Regions from separate parts of the Homo sapiens genome. Here region 2 is linked to region 1. The links are contacts of gene promoters, found by promoter capture Hi-C in human tissues and cell types (Jung and others, 2019). All regions are on one chromosome and are shown on one strand. The core of a region is centred on a gene start or on the middle of the fragment in contact, and the rest is flanking DNA. Distances in the headings are between cores, read along the strand shown.

Region 1 (2,700 bases), core at 85-2,584:
ATGGTAGGCATCCTTAACAAGGACAAATTCTTTGAACTTTGATTCTCTTGAATAAAGAGATTTGCAGGCCATTGATACCCTTTGGGGTTGAACCTTGTTATTTGCTCTCTCATGTCTGCAGTCCTAGATTTGATAATAAATACCAACAGGTACGACTGGGCATTCTCAATGATTCCCCTTTCCCTCCACAGCCTTTGCCAAACTCATGCCCAGGACCTGCTTTTCTTTTCCTTTAACTTGAACATCAAGGATGTATTGTTGCAGCACGGAGACTGAAAAGATTGTAATTTTCTTTTATGGTGTCTGGCAGGATTTGCAACAGATATTAATGGGGACATAAATAGCACATGGAAGGTATTGAACAAAACTGTTTAATGCAAGAAGGTTGTACCAAAAGAAAATCTATACCTAGTTGGGATTGATTCATACCTTGTACACAGCTAGCCCCTTTAGGAATTCCCATTTCTGAGTGGCACTTCATTGGTAAATCCTGTAATTAAAGGAAATTTCAACAATGTATTTTTTTAAGAGTGTGTGATTTTCCTCCCTACTCCTCTTTCTTTTGACCCCGAGGTTGTAGGTTTAAGCGAGTGAGTGAAAATGGCAGGCAAGCAGAGCTGCATCGGGAGGCGACCGGGGCAGCAGTGGGGGAGGCCGGAAGGTGACAGCCGACCTCTGAGAAAGCAGGAGGTCTTTGGATGTCAAATGCCAGCGCCGGCCCGGACCCGGGAATCAAGGGTGATCATTACTACTTGGTAGGGAAAGAATACTGAAATGTCCCAAGGATGGCAGCAAGCATTGGTATTACAGCTAAAATCGAGGAAAAAACCAGTTATTTATTCTGCTTACAACCCTGAAAGCGGAAGCTGCAATAGCTTCAGTAGCAGTAGCAGCGGCAGCAGTAGATTTCTCAAGTTCAGGATGATTCTCACTTTCTCCTGGATTATTAGCCGAGGGTCCAGCCCTTCTAGTTCTTTAACAGGAGAAGGGTTTTTAAAAAATGTTTTTAAAGTTTTTTTCCCCCCTGGCTTCTTGCTTCCCTCGTAGATGGTATAGAAAAATGTCTGCAATTTATGGTGGGAAAAACAATAACAATAATCATGATACAAGCTTGTTGGCGATTCTAACATGGAATCAATCCTCTGCCCAAGCCTTTTCAATTCCCCCCTCCCCTTTTTTTGGGCGAGGTGTCTGCTCCCCTCTGGCTCCCTGCGTTCGCTCCCCGCCCCCCGCCGCCCTCCCCGCGGCTCCCTTTCTCCGCCTCCTCGGCGATTGCCATCTGACAAGATCTCCAAATCAAAGTGATAAATCGCTCCAAACTTTTTTTGGCGGCGCTGAGATGTTGGAGGGGCGTCTAGCGCGCATGTGCGAAGGTGTCCAAACTGACAATGCTGGAGAGATAGCGAGTGTGGATTGAGAGAAAGGGAGAGAGGGAGGGAGAGAGAGTGAAAGAAGAAAATACAGAGAGTGAGTGTGTGGAAGAGAGAGAGAAACAGGAGAGAAACAGGAGGGAGGGAGAGAGAGAGAGAGAGAGAGAGAGAGAGAGAGAGAGAGAGAGAGAGAGAGAGAGACAGGAGAGAGAGGGAGGGAGCGAGAGGGAGAGCAAAAGAAGGAAAGGATCCAAGAAAAAAAAGCCCCAACCACACACCAGCGGCTGCAGGACTGGGCACAGCATGAGATCCAAAGGCAGGGCAAGGAAACTGGCCACAAGTAGGTGCAATATCCCTTTTCTATTGGCTTTTCCCCCTCCTCTGCCATCTTGCATATCTGTCTCTAGCGCTCCGGGAGGGAGCGCGGGCTGCCTCTTGCGCCGGGGCCCCGGGTGGAGGGCAGGCGGAGCGCAGCCCCAGCAACCTGCCGGTTCCAGTCTCTGCTCCCGGTCGCCCGCGCTCTCGCTCCCGGGTTGGGCGCCGGAGGAGCCTGGGCAGCCCTCAGTCCCGCGCACCGACCAGCTGTGGCAACCCCGGGGTGGGGGTGGGGGTGGGGGCAGCAAAGACTAGGGGTGGGAGGGAGGAGAGAGCGCGAGAGTGAGCGCGAAGGGGTGGGGTGGGGGGGAAGAGAAGAGGAGAAAGTCTCCCCCTCCCCTCCCCTTCCCCCCAGGCGGGGGAGAGTTGCCTCTGGCCAACCAGCTAGTCCCGGGTGTGGGAGGAGGGGGGCGCGGGGGATGGGGGGCCGGCAGGAGAAGGGAGCCTTTTCGAGCCTCGGTTTGTTTCTGGGGTTTGGGTAGGGTAGGCGGCTCAGAGGGAGCCACAGTGGCGGCGGCGGCGGGCGGCTGTGGTGGACTTGGGAAAAGTTGCGAGGCGGCCGCTGGAAGTTGCGCGGGCGGGCGGGTGGACTGCGCCGAGCCGCGGCTGCGGTAGTGGGCGCTGTGCGCTCGGCCATGCTCTCCGGCGCGGCGCTGCGCGGCGGGAGGACTGCGGCGGGGAGTAGGGGACACCAAGGTGGGGGCTGTGATCGCGGGGTGGGGGCGGGGGCACGGGCAGAGCAGAGCTACCGGCTCCGCACAGCCACGCGCAGGTGGGGAGGAAAGAGGCCCAGCGAGCGCTCGGACGTGGGGAGAGAAGAGGCCCAGCGAGCGCTCGGAGAGCCGGGAGTGGAGGGCACACAGCCAGCGGCGGCAGCCTAGGAGCAGGAGGCAGAGAGGGCGCGCTGCGACCCGCGCACCTCGGGCTTGCTGGGCGCCGAGCAAACCCCAGGGGG
Region 2 (2,700 bases), core at 108-2,607, 260 kb after region 1:
GAACTAAGTGCATGTACACTAATAACCAAACTTATAAATCTAAATTTTATTATGTTCATCAGTTAAGAAAATATACTTAAAATTTGTCTTTTTATGTTTCAGAGGGTTAATAGAATTACTAAATTTCAAAACCCAAAATAGAAAAGAAGCTTATTGTTTGATCTGTGTTTTAATCACTTGGGCTTATTAATATAGAGCCCCTGCCATCTTGTTTTTATTTTATTCCATATTATTTTATTTACTTTCAATGGCTATGAAGTGGTAAACACAAGCCCTCCCTAAAAGGGATTTATCGTCATTCTCTTTTCGATGGTGCAAATAAGTCCATAAAATAAATAAGTGTCTTGCAGTTCATTCTTCCTTTTATATTTCTTAAAATGAAAATCCAAAACAGAATGCCTAGAAGTATATTGCAATTTGACAGGATTTGCTTTGTGTGCATAGAGAAAATACGTCTTGTAAAAAAAGGAAGTAGAAGAATATATGTATGTGCTCTGTGACACTATTTTATTGGTGTCTATTGCACCCATTACAATGAGACTCTTGGGATGTTGGACCTAAATTACAATAATCATAAATAATGTTAAACCATAATAAATAAAACCCAACTTCTACCCTCTGTCTGTTTTCCCTTTTCTATATTTTTTCCATCAAGAAAATACACAAGTAAATAATACAAAACATTAATTTGGGGAAGGATCAGATCTCCTTTGGGGAAGAAGGCACATAGGCTGAGGGACCTGTGGGCTGGGGAGCCACCCAGTACTGTGCTCTGGGGATTTAGAGTTCTGGGATGGGAGGATAAGCAGGGAAGAACGCTGTATAGAGAATGTTGATTTTGCAGGATTTCCTGCATATGCACTGAATGAGTTTTAAAAATCATCTTAACAAATTACTTTTCTTGACATTAAGCCACTTTTTTTCTCTCAAAGTTCTCAACAGTAGGAATAAATAACATGTAAGTTGAATTTTGCTTAATAAGTGCCTATCAAAACTGCTGAGGTCAGGAGTGGTTTTGGAGCCTTTCCTGAGGAATACCACTTCAGGCAACACTGAGCAAGGAAAGGGGTGTGTACCTGGCAAACACTTTGTGAAGGCAGTACCTGAGTTAGGATTGCCAAAGAATATTGAACATCGTAAAGTGTAGGAACATAAGGGTGATCAATATAAAGGCACAGCTACTAATGTCAAGCATGAAGTTTGTTAGGGAATCAACATTCCTTAAGAGTCTGCACGATCTAGTGAAGGTGTCCTCTAATGTCTTACCTGGTTTTCTTTTTTTTTTGAGACAGAGTCTCATTCTGTTGCCCAGGCTGGAGTGCAATGGTGCAATCTTGGCTCACTGCAACCTCTGTCTCCAGGGTTCAAGCGATTCTCCTGCCTCAGCTTCCTGAGTAGCTGGGATTATAGGCATGCGCCATCATGCCCAGCTAATTTTTGTGTTATTTTTTCTATTTGTACATGTAAGAATGAAATTTTTTTCCTACCATCCCCATGCTGATCTTCTGATCTCCAGGTTTCCTTCAAGCAAGGGAAAAGCCTGTTGGTTCTGCAGCCTCATTACTGTCTAGATGGCCCAGGGCTCTATGATTGCCTCCCAGGGGCTCAGGGCTCCTGATTCATTGTTCAGTATTCTAATCACTTCGTTGTTCAGTATTCCAATCTTCTCTCTATCTGTGTCCTCAGCCCCCATATGTGTCCCAGTTCCTGGGAGTGGCCAACTTTACCTATCACTGATAAATTAACTCATGACATAGTATATGAGCTCATTGAAGTTTATTTTATCCCCGTTCCACTCCCTTATTGGACTCTCTTTACTTCCTAAATCTCTCCCTGTTATTCTTCATCCTCCAGCATCACAGCCCCTTTTTTAAGCTCTCATGATTTCTGTCATGGACTACTGAAACAGCCTCTGACTGGTCCATCTGCTTTCTGCCAATTTTAAATTTCTCCTCTTTTTTGAATCAGAGTGATCATGCTAATATCCAGTTCTGATCTTTCCATTTTCCATATTGACAATAGGAGGAAGGCCAAGCTCTAGGGTATGGCATGAATCCTTTGATTGTTTGGATCCTCACTGCCTCTTTCTCTGCATGTGCACCTACTCTATTTCTCACTATAAGTCAGACAATACTGAGGAATGCTTAGTCTCATGCACATGCTAAGCTCTTTCATACTTTTCATACCTTTAGATATGTCCTCTCTTCTTTCTAGTAGGGTCTTTTTTTCCCTCATCTTTTCTCTGGGAAACACCTTCAAAGCCACCTTTCTTCTTCAGCTTATTCTTCCCTTCTTGGGTGTGGCCACTTCTTGACAGCCTTCCCTAGCCATTTCTACCCTAAGACAGAATTAATTCCCTCTCTCCACTGAACCTTGGACATAGTTCGTTGATCGTGGGTACTATGTTTTGTTTGCATGTCTTCCTTCTCTACTGAAATGTTGCTCTGTGAAGCCAAGAATGAGGCCAGGTATTTTGGTTTCCAAAGTCCACATTCAGTGTCTGTGTAGTCCATAGTAGGTTTTTAAATGTAAATGGAAATGAATAAACGATTAATGGTCAGAACTCTTGGAGATGATTTTACCTTAGCCCAGAGAAACAATGCTAAGTGGGTCAGGGGTGGGGGTGGGAGAATTTCAGGTATGACAGCAGGTTGATCAGGGCTGTATGTTTTTTGAGTAGGGGAACCTAGCTTAAGGCAG

The links. Contacts are between HindIII fragments. The study calls those that stand out against the background at their distance.
Region 2: a contact is called between a fragment that was not itself captured here and the fragment with the promoter of MECOM in region 1, in 1 of the 25 tissues and cell types used here (aorta).

Annotation. Positions count from the first base shown.
Region 1 is chr3:169,662,346-169,665,045 of GRCh38, reverse strand. MECOM (MDS1 and EVI1 complex locus) reads left to right here and starts at 1,334. Exons shown (of 17, transcript NM_004991.4): 1 at 1,334-1,710. The coding sequence starts at 1,674. RefSeq lists a silencer at 2,343-2,442. The HindIII fragment of the contact is 10,305 bases long and covers 1-2,700 here.
Region 2 is chr3:169,401,241-169,403,940 of GRCh38, reverse strand. The region is part of intron 1 of MECOM (MDS1 and EVI1 complex locus); the gene reads left to right. Among named protein-coding and RNA genes, the nearest start is that of MECOM-AS1, 45 kb to the left of the region's middle. The HindIII fragment of the contact is 6,018 bases long and covers 1-2,700 here.